4 separate regions of the Homo sapiens genome follow, and all the other regions are linked to region 3. Evidence: promoter capture Hi-C in 16 types of primary human blood cells and fetal thymus (Javierre and others, 2016). All regions are on one chromosome and are shown on one strand. The core of a region is centred on a gene start or on the middle of the fragment in contact, and the rest is flanking DNA. Distances in the headings are between cores, read along the strand shown.

Region 1 (3,961 bases), core at 161-2,660, 160 kb after region 3:
AAGGGAGAGGGGCCCCAGACACAATTCTCCAAATAAGTCCTTCTGTGTACTGTGTGTGAATTAAGCTTCTGCCTACCTAAAGTCCAAAGGAATCTTGTAACGTCAATCCCATTTTTCATATCAATAAATAGAGGGTGCAAGAGGCAAAGGAAGTAGCCCAGATCACATGGGCTACAGATCAAATGGGCCTGGCCATTTATCTAGTTACCACCCCCCAGCCTCCTCACCTGCTGTGTTGTAAGGGGCTACCTATGCATCTATTTACATCTGGCTGATAGTCTCCATTCTCACCACCACAAAAACAGAATCTCAGAGTAAGGAGGTCCAACCTCCCCATGGTGCAATTAGGGAACTGATGCCCAGAGAAGGGAAGCTGCTTGCTTAGGGTCACAGAGCCAGAAGAATCAGGGCAGGGACTTAAACCAATTCAGAAGGCTGCTCTTTCCTAGAGCCAGGTTCTCAACTATTTACATACACAGATGTCAGACACCATATTAGGCACCAGGGAAATAAAGATGAATGAGTACAGGCCCTGCCTTGAGAGGCTCAGAAGTGAGGAGACAGGCTCCCCCGACCCAGCCTGTAGAAAGACATCCTCCAGATGCCAAGGACCACATGCTAAGAAAGAAGTTGCTCTAAGCTGGGGAAGTCAAAAAGGCCACCTGGAGGGGGTGGGCCTAAAAAATGATTAGAGGTGTGAGTGGGAGGAGGGCACTCGCTCTGGTGATCCAGGCGGGAGGAAATGTAAGTGCACAGGAATAGTCCTCTTGGGGAAGACACTCCTGCTGGAGGATTATGGGAGACAAGGCTGGAAAGGCAGGTTGGGAATAGACAGACCAGAGAAGAACCTGAGTGCCGGCTAGAGGGCCTGAGCTTCACTCCATGGGCACTGGGGAGTTATGGAAGGTTTCTGTCTGGGGTGACGGGGGATCCATGCAAAGGGACTTACTAGGAAATTTACTCTAATAAAGTAGGGTAATAAATTAGGGAGCAGCTTACAGGGCAGACTTCCTTGGAAAAAACCTGAGGCATCAAGCATGTCAATGCATCTGTGGGTTGCCTCTTGGGGTGACTGTGGTGTGAGTGTGTGTGTATGTGTGTGTACGCACACACACAAGTGTAGTGCTAAGACCAGGAAAGCCTGGTTTCACAAAACTGCTCCAGTCTGCCCTGGTGGGGAGATGATGGATCACCAGATCCCCACCCCTTCTGTCTCCCTTTCATAACCACCCTGAATGGGCAAAAGCATAGCTGCCTCCCCACACAGTCTGTGTACCCTGAACCCCAGCACGCACATGAAGAAACTGTCCTAGAAGCAGAGACACGCGCACACACACCAGGGAGCACAGTAAGCAACCTCTTACCTAACCTTTTCCCTCAAGACTCATGCCAATAGAGAAGGGCACCCAGGGCACTATAAAGGACAAGGGTGAGGGAGGGTCCACCCCACAGCCTGATGAGCTTAGGAGGACAGTGAGGAGTCAGGTGGGGGGGAATGAGGGGGCACTGCTGCTGAGGACAGCCCAACAATTTGCAATCCACGTAAACCCAGGGGTGGGGGTGATTGGGAAAAATGCCCTGGGAGACAAATAAAGATTGGCAGGGGACCATTCAGAAAAGGACTTACTGGAGCTGGGTGCAGTGGTTCATGCCTGTAATCCCAGTACTTTGGGAGGCTGAGGTGAGCGGATCACCTGAGGTCGGGAGTTTGAGACCATCCTGGCCAACATGATGAAATCCCATCTCTACTAAAAATACGAAAATTAGCTGGGCGTGGTGGCAGGCTGTAATCTCAGCTACTCAGGAAGCTGAGGCAGGAGAATCACTTGAACCCAGGAGGCAGAAGTTGCAGTGAGCCGAGATTGGGCCACTGCACTCCAGCCTGGGCGACAGAGTGAGAATCCATCTCAAAAAAAAAAAAGGACTCACTGGAACATGAGGAGCCTTCCTGCTGCCTTCCCCCCAACTCCCTTCCTCTCTATCCACACTGACTGACCCCTCAAGGTCTGCTTACCTGGACAACTGGTTTATTTTGTCCTCCTTTTGGGACCGGGGGTGGAAAGGGACTCAAGGTCCCCTTCCCCCTCTTCCTCAGCCAAGAGATCCCCCAAAATGGGAGGACTATGAGCAATGAATCCTGGTGGAGTTGTCATTACTGTGAGTTGCAATATCATTTAATAAGGATAGCAATTATCATAGCCACATCATCATAGCCCCTACCACCAGGAGAAGGGGGCTGGCAGCCAAAATGCCTGGTGCTACTCACCAGCTCTGTGCCCAACCCTTCCCTACTTTCCCTTCTTGAAACCTGCAGAATCCTAATTTTGGGATTCCTAGGATCTCAGAATCAGAAGAAATCTTGTAGTGGTCCCATTCCCAAACCACCTGTTTGCCTGCCTCCAGCCAGGGGCACTCACACCCACCAGGCATCCCATTGCACTGGGGTGTTGTTGAATACATGCCTCTGCCCCCTAACACCTCAGTGCCCCCGGGGAGAAGTCTGGAGGAGTTCCATCATCTTTACAATCCTGGGGTCTTCCTCATCCCTCCCCAAGCCAGGCCAGACCTGGAGCCTCCCACACTGATGTGTCACAACCTCCTCAAGCGTCCAGTTCAGTGTCACCCAACCCACCGCTCCAACAAATCATTCCAAGTTCTACCTCCAGCCCTCCTACTCTAACTCCAGCCTACTTCTGCAGCTATTTGCCACGAGCCACCCACCAGACAGGAAAATGATGATCTGATTCATCTTATAAAAAGCTTTCCAAACCTCTATCTCCACCTTTCTGTCTTTTGCTCAAGTGCACTTATCCCTGGCTGCCAGGAAGTTTGCCTTGATATTTAACCTGAATCTTGCCCTCTGTGGGATGGCCTTGGAGAAAGGTCATTCATTTAATATCCTATCCCAGTTTCCCAAGTCACTTATGATGCACTTTCTCCCTCTGTCAACCTTCCAGAAGCACTCCTCGCACTCCACACCCCAGGTTAGTGCCCCCACACCCTCCTCACCCTAGGGCAGTTCAGGGAATGCTGCCTGCCTCCAAGCCTGGCTGTAGTTCAGGTTGTCAGCCCCAGCCCCAGCCCCAGCCCCAGCGGAGGAGAGGGGTCTCATAACAGCCCGGCGTCGAGCCCCCAGCCCTCAGCCCTCACTGAAGAAGGAGGTAATTAGGAGCTGTGCAGTCCGTCCCCCAACAGGTAGAGCTGAGCAGCTGCATCCATCATCCAAGCAGCTGCCACAGAGCGGGAGGGTCACGTGGCTCGGCCGGACCAACAGGAGAGTGTGGGGAGGCCTCGGGCTGGGGATTGGCTGGTCTGCAGCAGGAGAGTCAGGGCTGTCGGGGACAACCTGAGAATGACCTTGTGGGGACTTCAGCACCCCTGGCGCTTCTCCTCCCCAGAAATCTCTCCACCTGCCCCCAGTTCCCAACTGAGGTCCTACCTGCCACTCTGGCCCTGGCATTTTCTCTTCCCCTTCAATGTCATTTATCTATGTGTAAGGGCCCCTCATATTCATTTTTAAAAGGAAAATGGTCTCTTGTGTACTTCATAGGTCTAAGTAGGATGTGGGAGGTAGTTTCCTGGCCTGAATAAGGGCTGATGATTCCATGAGGGAGAAAGGAAAGGAGGGAGGGAGGGGGCCCTGTGTGGATGGAGGAAGTGTCGGTGCAGGTGCATTTTTGTCTAATTGTCTGCACTAGTGCCAGGATGTGAGTGTGAAGGAGCATGTGCTGGCAGCCGTGTGCACTGCGCATCGGAGCATCAGCCAGGGCGCAGCCTGGGACGTGTTTTGCATACTTGCACTGACCAGGGTACATTACCACACTGCAGTGCACTTGGGCACAGATGGGCGTGTTGACCTTGTGCCTTCTTTGTGTGTGCACAGGCTCATGTTCACACATGTACACAGGTTGCTGGGCCTGTCCATGCACACTGACACAATGGGCTTTCACCTTGACAGTTT
Region 2 (3,479 bases), core at 232-2,731, 140 kb after region 3:
GTAGAGATGGGGTCTCCCTATGTTGTCCAGGCTGGTCTCAAACTCCTGGCCTCAAGCAATCCTCCCACCTCAGCCTCCCAAAGTATTGGGATTATAGGCATGAGCTACTGCCTCACCTCGCATTAATTGCCTACCTATTAAATGCCAGGCCCCACTAGGTGCTTACATATGGGTTATCCTTTCCAATCCAGGGATTTTAAGACTGTTTTCCTTCCCTGATGATGGACTTTTGTCATTTCTAATCTAGCCCAAGACCACGCACTGCTCCATGGTCCTGTTACTCTGGGAGACAGCTTCCATTCCTGATACCACTTTCATGAAGACTTAACTTCGGAAATCATTTTGTCCATCTCTCTCTGTCTCTGGGCAAAGTCTCACTTGAATATTGCTAGTTCTCATGTTGGCCAGCTTGGGCTTCTAAACAGAACCCTGACCCAAAAAGGGCATCATGGTGACCCATAGTTGCACAGCTCCTCAGGGGAGAGGGGGGCATCTTACACATTGAATTCTATGTGAATGGCACCACCTAGAGTTGTGCTCCAGGAATTCAGTGAATGGCGCTCTCTGGAGCTCAGCAATGCTGCCACACCCTACCACCCAGAGATACCTGGTGATCAAGTCAGCCTTAGGCAGCATTCAAGGATGAAAAACCTAGGTTTTGAAAACTAGGGTATCAATATCTCAGCCCCCCAAAAAAGGGAGTGGAGATCCTCTCCACCTCATTGACTGCTGAGAGATCCCTGCTTAGCACACAGCTCACCAATCTTCTCTCCATCAACTTCAAAGTCCCCTCCAGCCTCAGGGAGGCCCCCAAGGGTATGAAGCAAAGCTGGTTTGATCTGAGCTTGGTGTTGGGTGGTGTCACCCCAGCACAGTTCAGGCTAGGCCTAGAAATCACAGTGAGACCAAAGACCCCATCTTGGGAAGGGATAGGAGTGGGGACTGGAGGGGTGGGTACAATCTTCAGAGCATAGTATATTGTTTACAATCGCCCAGGTCCCTCCTAGACACAAGGCCTGCCAGGCTCACACTTGGGTCTTCCCTAGCAGGCAAAGCTGTTTTGCCTGCTCACCCTCTGTCAAGTTTATCCCACATGCACATCCCCCTTCATCCTCTGCCTAGCCCTTCCTTCCCCTTCTCTCATGTCCTTTCTTATTTTCCTCTCCCAGAGACTCTGAATAAAACCCTCTGACCGCTGTAATCTCCACAACATTCCCCTTGAGCACTGATTCTCTCAGCTGACAGGGCCCTTCAGGCCGTGTGTCACCAGGACAGGAGCTTCTAATGTGTCCTACTCACCCCCTTATGTCAGAACATCCCTGACTCAACAGCTCATGGAAGCTCAGCCCTCAGAGCCCCAGACAAAGCTACCACGTGGAGGCACCAGCACTCACAGAGAGGGTCAGCTGGTCCACAGCCAACCTGTCTTGACTGAAGTCTTCCTTCATGCTAGGCACTGTGGGCCATAGAAACAGTATGGGTAGTCTGGCCCCAAAGAGCATTTGGTCTCATGTGACAAAAAAGAGATACATCCATCCCAGATTTAAAAATAAGAATAGGGGCCATGCCTGGTGGCTTATACCTGCAATCCCAGTACTTTGGGAGGCCAAAGTAGGAGGCTCTCTTGAGGCCAAAAGTTTGAGACTAACCTTGGCAACGCAGCGAGACCCTGTTTCTACAAAAGAAATTTTAAAAATTAGTGGGGTGTGGTAGCTCATGCATGTAATCCCAGCACTTTGGGAGGCTGAGGTGGGTGGATCACTTGAGGTCAGGAGTTTGAGACTAGCCTGACCAAAATGGTGAAACCTCATCTCTACTAAAAATACAAAAATTAGCCAGGCATGGTGGTGGGCACCTGTAATCCTAGTCCCAGCTACTCGGGAGGCTGAGGCAGGAGAATCGCTTGAACCCAGGAGGCAGAGGTTGCAGTGAGCCGAGACCATGCCACTGCACCCCAGCCTGGGTGACAGAGCAAGAGTCAGTCTCAACAAAAAGAAAAAAGAATTAGCTGAGTGTGATGGTGAGTGCCTGTAGTCCTAGCTACGGGAGGCTGAGGCAGGAGGATCACTTGAGCCCACTAGAGGTTGCAGTGAGCTGTGATTGTACCACTGCACTCCAGCCTGGGCGACAGAGCAAGCAAGACCCTGTCTCTAATAAATAAATATCTGACCATGAAGGTGAGCCTTATGGGCAATAAGTTTCAGGGGCAGAAGAAAGTGCTGTCACTGAGGGTCCTCCCAGGAGACTCCCAGAGGCGGTCAGATAGGAGCTATCCTTGCAGTTTTAGAAAGGCTGAGAGCCCATCAGAGGCCTCCAGGCTGCTAAAGAACCATCCTACGGGTTGTCCTTTGTTTCCCCCAGAACATTGGTCATGGGAGGAATGGGCTCCAGCAGCAGCAGGGTAGCATCACCGAGCACCTGCTCGCTGCCAGGCACTGTGCTGGGAACTAGGAACACAGAGAAGAACAAGGAGGTCCATGTCATCAAGGCACCGACAGTCTGGATGGGGAAAGAAACCACGGATCTTTACAAAGCAAGGTGAAAAGAACCAAGACTATAGGTACACCTAGGGCACCGGGGGAGCACCATGCACACACCTAAACCTCCCTGGGAAGGGAAAGGAAAGGGTCATGGAAGTCTCCCTGAAGGGGAGGAGTATGGAAACTATAAGCAAAATTATATGCAAATGGTGCCCCTTTTTTCTCCCTACACTCCTCCCAACTGAAGGTGACCTTCCACCCCAACAATAAATCCTTAGCTTCTTAAACTAAGGTTACAGTGGGGTGTCAACACCCCAACCGACTCTCACTCATCCTCAAATGATCCAAATCTGAACTGGGATTCCAGCCAGATATGGGGTGCCTCCCTAACCCATGTGCCCCACAGTCGATCCCACCCTGCCAGCATCATGACCAGACACTCTATGATTCCTGAGACAGGACAGAGCCTGGGGAACAGGGAGGGGAGCGCCTACTGTCTCCTGGAATTCACATACCCTACAGCCTTCCTCTTTCATGCCCCTGTGTGTGGAAGATGCCCCTGTTCCCCACCGCTCTCCATCTGTGATCTGGCTCCTGCCCTCCTCCTGCTATAGCTGCTCCTCCTCCCCCCTTGGAAGAATGCACCCTCCCCTCAGCTTTCCCTCCACAGAGGCCAGAGCAGGAGGGAGGCTGCATATGGCCCCGTTTTCCTTGGCCTGGGTAGGCTATTTTGGAAGCGAGAACCCTCCTTGCCCTTTCCTCCCCTCTGGGAAGCACCGTCCCTCCCCTCTCCACATTCCCCAGAAGTTCTCAGACTGAGATCCGCCCTACGTGCAGTTATGTGGTGAAATCACTGCTTTCCTCCCCGCCGGAGGCGCCAAAGCTTGGAAGGGAGGGTACTCAAACCTTTGATGTAGGCACGTTTCAGAAGGCCCACCTGTCCCCTCTCTCCCCAGCCCCCAGCCTGAAAGGCTGGAGCCCCTCATCACAGCTTTCCTG
Region 3 (3,983 bases), core at 1,277-3,776:
TCGTGCAGGGGGCGAGGTTCGAAGTCCTGGGCTGGACCGCAGCACGAGTGTGGCCCGGACGGCTGCGTGGCCAGAAGGGGTGTTCGGGCAGGGTGCGAGAGCACCGGCAAGGTGGATTGTGTATGGACTTTGGCCGCAGACAGAGCAGAGCGGGCTCCCGGGCTGTGGCCGGCGGCGAGGCGGGCAACCGCATGTTGAGTCTATAGAAAGGACCTTGAGGTCTGCTGGGTGTTTGGGCTGCCCTGGGGGCGGCGGCCCAGAGTGTGGAGCAAGCGGCGCGCGGGGCGCGGCGGTCAGCGTGGGAGAGGCTGCAGGCCCTGCACGCCTCTGCAGCTGCCGGGCCGTGTCCGGGACGTCTGAACTGAGGCCGACCAATGGTCACAGCATGAAAAATAAATGCAATGGAAGGTCTTTCTGTCTTTTCTTTTCCGCGTAAAAGGTCCTTTCTTTTTTCTCTCTTTCGGATATACCTGGATTTGGTCCAGACCAGGTTGCCCGCGGGAGGGCCCCGCGAGCGGCAGCGCGCGAGGGAGGGAGAGAGAGGGAGGGCGAGAAGGAGGGAGGGAGGGAAGGAGGGCGGGCGGCGGCGGCCGTGGTGGCCGGGGCTTCCCTCCCCAGGCGGGAGCCGCCTGTCCTGTATCTATGGCCGTGGGGAGCGAAGGACCAGGTAACGAAGGCGCTTCCGAAGCGGGATTGGACCAAACCAGAGGGACAGAGTCTTCTGGGTCTCTCTGCCTGAGGCCCTGGAGGGAGAGAAGGTAGGGAGATCGGCGCCCGCCGGGCCTGGCAAAGAGGCCTCGGGAAATGTTGAACCTGTATGTGATCTCAGGCTCACACTCATGTTGTGGGTCTGTCTGCCTCAGGAGATGCGGTTTGCCTTTCTGTCTGAGACGCCCCAAACCCTGAGCTCTCCTTCCCAAGGCTGGAAAAAAAATCGGGAAAAACGGCGGAATTTGCACTTTCATTCATTGGGTTATCTGCAACTGAGAGGGGCTGGTTAAGGCGTCCCCAAGTTGGAAGGGCGCTTTGCTTCTGTTTTCTGGATGCAGAGTCCTCTGACTCCCTCTGCCACGGGCTGAGTTTCCGGCTCCAGGTTCGCGTGTCGCCCTGAGGTTTGAGGCCAGACAGCTCGCAGTCGGGCAGGGAGGGCGGGGGAGAGACGAGCGGCTCTGGCCCCTTAATTGTACTTCGGGCTCGTATTGTCTCTCCTTTCGCCACCTCCGCTTCCTCAGTCTGGGCTCCAAAGTCACTGCAAATTTCCTTGCGACACATACATCACACAAAAGATCAGGTAACAAGGCGCTCAGGGCCACTGGGGCTCCGGGCAGGGCAGGGAGCGGCTCTAGCTCTGGGGCGGCTCCCCCTCCAGCCACTCCCAGGCTGGAAAACCAGACCGCGTTGGGGGAGCCGGAAATAGCCCCGCTTGCTGCGGAGCGTCAGGGCGGGGGCGCCGGCGGGAATGCAGGCCCGGCAGGCCGTGGCTTTGAGAGAGCCACGTTCACAGGCCCTGGGGATTTCACTCCTGCTGGGCCTCGGGACCTGACTCCTGGTGTGTAGGGATCCCAGATACCCACCTTGGGTGGGGGCAGGACGCGGGTTTCCTCGCGGCAGGCCAAGAGAACTCAGTTTCTGCTTCCAGCGCAGGCCTTAGCTAGGAGGAGTTGTGTGTGGGTGTGTTTTTCCCAACAAAGAGGGATCAGGAGAGAGAAGGGGGGAAAGTAGAGGGGAACCAGGGAGGGGGCGGGGAGGGGAAGAGGGCAGTGGAGAGGTGAAATGAGCCCATTTCAGGGGGAGAAGGAAAATGAAAGCAAATGGAGTACGGCCTTCTCCGCGCAGGGCGGGTGCTGACGAGCCGGGAGCGGGCTCCCTGCCTGCGGCAGCCGGGATGGCCCGCTGGGGACACCGGAGAAAGCCTGTTTTAAATTTAATCCGAACTTGACGGTGTGGATTGAACCGGAGGGAATTTAAATCACTAAAAGGAAGGCGCGGGGCAGGGGGAGGGGACGACTCTAACCTGTCTATCTTTCTGTCTGTCCTTCCCACGGTGCTAGTTTGGTTGTGGCCGCAGCTGCCCAGGTTTCAGGTGATGGAGTAAGGGTGCCCCTCCCCCTCAGGGGTCTCTCCTGTGCCCAGTGAAGTCTTTTGGGGGTGGGAGGGAACTCTAAGAACCAGAGTGAATGCACAGCTGCGAGCTAAAGCTGGGGTTTCCCCCTCCCCAACAAGAACTCCCAGTGGCCTCCAGTCCCTGGGTTTGCCCCAGCGGTGCTGAGGAAAATTGAAGGGAGTATGTGGGTGAGGGGAAGTCTGGAGTATGGCAGAAGATTCAGAAGGAGTAACTGAACCCCAGGAAGACAGACCTTCCTTCTTGGTGCCCCTATATCCTTTGTGCCCCGCCCCCCGCACCTACAAACCTGGATTTGAGGGAAATCTGCAGGTCCGCTTCAAAGCCCTGGTCTGCCACCCACACCCCTCCAAATGTGGAGAATGGGGGCTACAGGCCACATGCAGTTGTGGACCTGCGGAACCTCCGCCCAGTGGACTCCGGAACTCCCAGCCTCTTCTAGCCCCCCTCCCCAAGGCCGCCTCTCTCCGAAGGGCGCAGGGAAAATGAGGCATTGGCTGGGAAGGGGCTGTGGGCGAGGCCTGCTTCCTGATCCACAGCCGTGCCTGCCTCTGAGTGGGAAGAGTTCGGAGGTCATAGTCCCAGAAAATAAAATAAAATAAAGGAAAGCGACAATCTCCTTGGTTTCACAGGGGATTTCACGGCAGCAGGGATCCCGCCGGTGAGCCTCACTGCCCGCTGCTGCCGCCTCCGCAGAGTGGGCAGGCAGGGTGCGCAGGCAGCTCAAGAGTTGAAAAGAAGGCGGTGTTCAAAGGGGGTAGGAGAGAAGGGGGCATCTCTTTACGGCCCCAATGTCTATTTGAGGAACTCTCCCAAATAGCAGAGGCCCATAGGGGAGGCTCCTTAGGGACTCTTTCCTCCAGGAAAGCTGAGGCTGGGGCAGCTGGCCTTGTCGCTTGGAGAAGACGCAAAGGAAGAGCAGGGGTGAAACCTCTTTCCTCTTCTGTTTCTTCGCTCCTTGAATAGAGCAGGGCTCAGCCCCCAGCTGCCTAAGCGGCTGTCTGGACCAATATGGGGTTCTATATCCCTGAGGCCTAGAGTACCCATCCGAGCAAGTCTCCTGGGAGGGGCAGGAGAGGAGCCCTCTTCCGCCTTTGTGTCCAGACAGAAGTGGCCGCCGCGCCCGGAGCCGGTCCCGCGGCAAAGGCCCGGCAAGCCAGCGGGCTGCACAATGCCACGGCTGCTCCGCCAGCTCGCCCCTGCCCCGTCCTGCCTGCCTACGGCCGCCCTTCCTCCGCCTCCCTCTCTGCACGCCTGCCTTTCCCGGCTCTCCTATCTCTTTTCATCTTGCCTTCCTTCTTTTAATTCTCCCCCTTTTTTCCCTTTATTCTAATGCTCCGCTTCCTTCTTTCCTCTCTTGGGCCTGACTCCATGTTTCAGTTGGTCTGTCCCAGGCTGTCTCGGGTTCAGTCTCTCTCAGGCTCTGTCCCCTGATGTCCTCTTGGTCTCAGTCTGGCCCCGGGCCCCGCTGAGGGCTAAACGTCTCTGCTCATCGCTGCCAGCAGCCGCCCAAGTGCCGGGCCCGGTCCTCAGCCGCCCTGGGCTGGGGGAGGTGCTGGCTGTACTGGGGATTTGGAGAAAGCCTCGGCAGGGGGACTGGAACCTCCTGTCTTTTCCTTGAACTAGTGAGGGAGATTTTTTGATTGACAGCTAACCCAACTCCATCAAGGCCAAAGAGATATTCTGTTTCTTGTTGTAAGTTGGGCTTCCCAGCTCAGTCCAGCTCAAGGGAGGGGAAGACAGTGGCGCCAAGGAGCTGAACCCCCAAGTCGCCTCTCCCCAACCAAACACATCCCTCATCCTCCCCCATGAGTTGAAATCCCAGCCCCGTTAAGCCGCCCCCTTAGACCAAAAAGGAAAA
Region 4 (3,556 bases), core at 671-3,170, 250 kb after region 3:
AAAAAATTTGATAATTCATGAGATGAGTATTGAAACTTGGTCTAAATGTAGTAATACAATCTAGACAAGGAGCACAGGTTCAAATCCATGTGTAGTAACACTGATGAGAGCCAAAAAGCAAAATTTTATACAAGCCAGGTAATTTTTTTTTTTAGACAGTCTCCCTCTGTTGCCTAGGTTAAAGTGCAGTGGCGCAATCTCAGCTCACTGCAACCTCCACCTTCCAGGTTCAAGTGATTCTCCTGCCTCAGTTTCCTGAGTAGCTGGGATTATAGGTGCCTGCTACCACCCCTGGCTAATTTTTTTTTTTTTTTTTTGAGACAGAGTCTTGCTCTGTTGCCCAGGCTGGAGTGCAGTGCCACAATCTCAGCTCACTGCAACCTCTGCCTCCTAGATTCAAGCGATTCTCCTGCCTTAGCCTCCTGAGTAGTTGGGATTACAGGTGCGTGCCACCGCACCTGGCTAATTTTTCCATTTTTAGTAGAGACAGGGGTCTCACCATTTTGGCCAGGCTGGTCTCAAACTCCTAGCCTCAGGTGATCCACCCTGCCTCGGCCTCCCAAAGTGCTGAGATTACAGATGTGAGCCATCACACCCGGCTACGCCTGGCTAATTTTTTGTATTTTTAGTCGAGACAGGGTTTCACCATGTTGACCACACTGGTCTTGAACTCCTGGCCTCAAGTGATCCACACGCCTCAGCCTCCCAAAGTGCTGGGATTACAGGCGTGAGCCACCGCACCCGGCCCAAACTAGGTAATTTGAAAAAACTTTATTATGGAAGATAATGCTAGCCTCTCTAGTGGCAACACACACACAAAAAAAAGATTTAGAGATGCCCAAATGAACTAAATCTCTACTGCCCGATTTTCATAATAAAATCTCTTTGATCTTATGTTCACCTGCTTTCCTCTGAGACATACAAAGCATTTGGGGTCCGGGTGGTCCCCAAAGATACCAAAATTCACAATTGGAAGGACATTCCACGCGTGGATCAATGAGAGATACTGACTTTTAAAAACATAGCCTCTTTTGGGGGTGCTTAAGGGGAAGAAGTTCCCAGATGTGCACACAGCTGCTCACAGCTGGAATGCTGGTGCATGGACTAAGTTGTAAATCATAACTGGCAACTGAAAACAGTTTGCTACATAGGGAGGGAAGAGGAGGCGAATGGAAGAAAAACGTTCAAGCTGCTGAAAAGGAGCCAGGGCGAAGAAAATGCTAAAATCATCATACAGGCAGTAATCTTAAATCAGGCATAATGCAAACTAACAAATTTCTTCTCCAGTGGTCTTAAGAAATAAACACAATCCCCTCCTATACCTTTAAAACATACAATCACCTATCTTTCCAGCTGTCTACCTGACAGCAGCCAGTACTGCTAAGAATGCTATCAGGGGTCCCAGATGAACATTATGATGTAAGGGACATGTGGGGGTTGTTTTCAAGGTCGGCAGCTTCAGAACCTGGCCTAGGAACAAAACTCTGTGCACTGGCCAGTGGCTCCAAGCCAGATTATTCAGACTGCTCCTTTTTAAAAATGACAGAGGCCAGGTGTGGTGGCTCATGCCTGTAATCACAGCACTTTGAGAGGCCAAGATGGGCGGATAACGAGGTCAGGAGATTGAGACCATTCTGGCTAACACGGTGAAACCCCATCTCTACTAAAAATACAAAAAATTAGCCAGGCATGGTGGCATGTGCCTGTAGTCCCAGCTACTAGGGAGGGTGAAGCAGGAGAATCGCTTGAACCCAGGAGGCAGAGGTTGCAGTGAGATTGTGCCACTGCACTCCAGCCTGGGCAACAGAGTGAGACTATGTCTCAAAAAAAAAAGAAAAAAAAAAAATTCTAATTTTACTGGTCTGGGGTGCATCTTAGGCACTGGAGATTTTTTTTTTTTTTTAACGTACCCCCCAGGTGATTATAATGTGTAGCATTGAGAACTAATGCTCTAGAAAGGTATAAATCTAATTAGAATGAAGATACATAGGGATGATTGTGGCAGCTACTCTGGAAGGCTGGAAGATTCCGAAGTAGACTTACGCTTTTATGAAATGTAAAGTGTATGATACATCCTTCACCACAAAAGGCTTCATAACCTTGAAATAAATAAAAGGAATGGAAGCTGGGGGCGGGAGGAGGTGGTAGAGTGTGTGTATTTATGCGCCCACACACAGATGAAAAGAGAGAGAGGCAATAACAGTGCTTATGCTACTTACTTGAGAGCTAAAGATCAGAAGGATTAAAGCAACTAAATCAAACCAAAATTTCATAAATACACTTCCCAAACTGAAGAAGATTCAAAAGACAAAAATTAATTTTGTACGCCAAGTATGTAGAAATAATAGATCAAGAGAATATAAATGCCACTGAACTGTACATTTTAAAATTGTTAATTGAGCCAGGCATGGTGGCTCACACCTGTAATCCCAACACTTTGGGAGGCCAAGGCAGGTGGATCACCTGAGTTAGGGAGTTCAAGACCACCCTGACCAACATGGAGAAACACCCTCTCTACTAAAAATACAAAATTAGCTGGGCATGGTGGTGCATGTCTGTAATCCCAACTACTCTGGAAGGCTGAGGCAGAAGAATCACTTGAACCCAGGAGATGGAGGGTGCAGTGAGCCAAGATCATGCCATTGAACTCCAGCCTGGGCAACAAGAGTGAAACTCCGTCTCAAAAAAATAAATAAAAAATAAAAATAAAAATACAAAAATTATCTGGCTATGGTGGCACATGCCTGTAATCCCAACTACTCAGAAGGCTGAAACAGGAGAATCACTTGAACCCAGGAGGTGAGGGTGCAGTAAGCCGAGATCACGCCCATGCACTCCAGCCTGAGTGACAGAACAAGACTCTGTCTCAAAATAAATAAATAAATAAAATATTTAATTGTATATTATATGATTTTCACTGCAAAAAAAAGATTATCAAGGATTGAAAACAAATGCTATCACTGGAACAAAAGAAAGGGCCGGGGCCGGGCGCGGTGGCTCACGCCTGTAATCCCAGCACTTTGGGAGGCCGAGGCGGGTGGATCATGAGGTCAGGAGATCGAGACCATCCTGGCTAACAAGGTGAAACCCCGTCTCTACTAAAAATACAAAAAATTAGCCGGGCGCGGTGGCGGGCGCCTGTAGTCCCAGCTACTCGGGAGGCTGAGGCAGGAGAATGGCGTGAACCCGGGAGGCAGAGCTTGCAGTGAGCCGAGATTGCGCCACTGCAGTCCGCAGTCCGGCCTGTGCGACAGAGCGAGACTCCGTCTCAAAAAAAAAAAAAAAAAAAAAAAAAAAAAAAAAGAAAGGGCCGGGCGCGGTGGCTCACGCCTGTAATCCCAACACTTTGGGAGGCCAAGGTGGATGGATCACAAGGTAAGGGGTTTGAGACCAGCCCGGCCAACATGGTGAAACCCCGTCTCTACTAAAGATACAAAAAATTAGCTGGGCATGGTGGCGTGTGCCTGTAATCCCAGCTACTTGGGAGGCTGAGGCAGGAGAACTGCTTGAACACAGGAGGTGGAAGTTCCAGTGAGCCAAGATCGCACTATTGCAC

The links. The method cuts DNA at HindIII sites, captures the fragments that hold promoters and counts their contacts. A CHiCAGO score of 5 or more calls a contact.
Region 1: a contact is called between a fragment that was not itself captured here and the fragment with the promoter of HOXC-AS2 in region 3, in 11 of 17 cell types (naive CD4 T cells, naive CD8 T cells, total CD8 T cells and 8 more). The highest score is 11.2, in naive CD4 T cells.
Region 2: a fragment that was not itself captured here is called in contact with the fragment with the promoter of HOXC-AS2 in region 3 in 9 of 17 cell types (naive CD8 T cells, naive CD4 T cells, total CD8 T cells and 6 more); the score reaches 10.2 in naive CD8 T cells.
Region 4: a fragment that was not itself captured here is called in contact with the fragment with the promoter of HOXC-AS2 in region 3 in 8 of 17 cell types (naive CD8 T cells, total B cells, naive B cells and 5 more); the score reaches 9.9 in naive CD8 T cells.

Annotation. Positions count from the first base shown.
Region 1 is chr12:54,156,083-54,160,043 of GRCh38, forward strand. It overlaps a transcript of SMUG1 not described here. Among named protein-coding and RNA genes, the nearest start is that of SMUG1-AS1, 15 kb to the left of the region's middle. RefSeq lists an enhancer at 3,103-3,397. The HindIII fragment of the contact is 2,695 bases long and covers 64-2,758 here.
Region 2 is chr12:54,137,885-54,141,363 of GRCh38, forward strand. No RefSeq gene overlaps it. Among named protein-coding and RNA genes, the nearest start is that of SMUG1-AS1, 3.0 kb to the right of the region's middle. The HindIII fragment of the contact is 3,759 bases long and covers 1-3,361 here.
Region 3 is chr12:53,994,259-53,998,241 of GRCh38, forward strand. It overlaps HOXC-AS2 (HOXC cluster antisense RNA 2), which reads right to left and starts at 2,527. Exons shown (of 3, transcript NR_047505.1): 1 at 2,412-2,527; 2 at 1,575-1,651; 3 at 950-1,260. RefSeq lists an enhancer at 959-1,527. The HindIII fragment of the contact is 15,520 bases long and covers 1-3,983 here.
Region 4 is chr12:54,247,542-54,251,097 of GRCh38, forward strand. The region is part of intron 3 of CBX5 (chromobox 5); the gene reads right to left. Among named protein-coding and RNA genes, the nearest start is that of SCAT2, 13 kb to the right of the region's middle. RefSeq lists a silencer at 1,465-1,664. The HindIII fragment of the contact is 5,143 bases long and covers 1-3,556 here.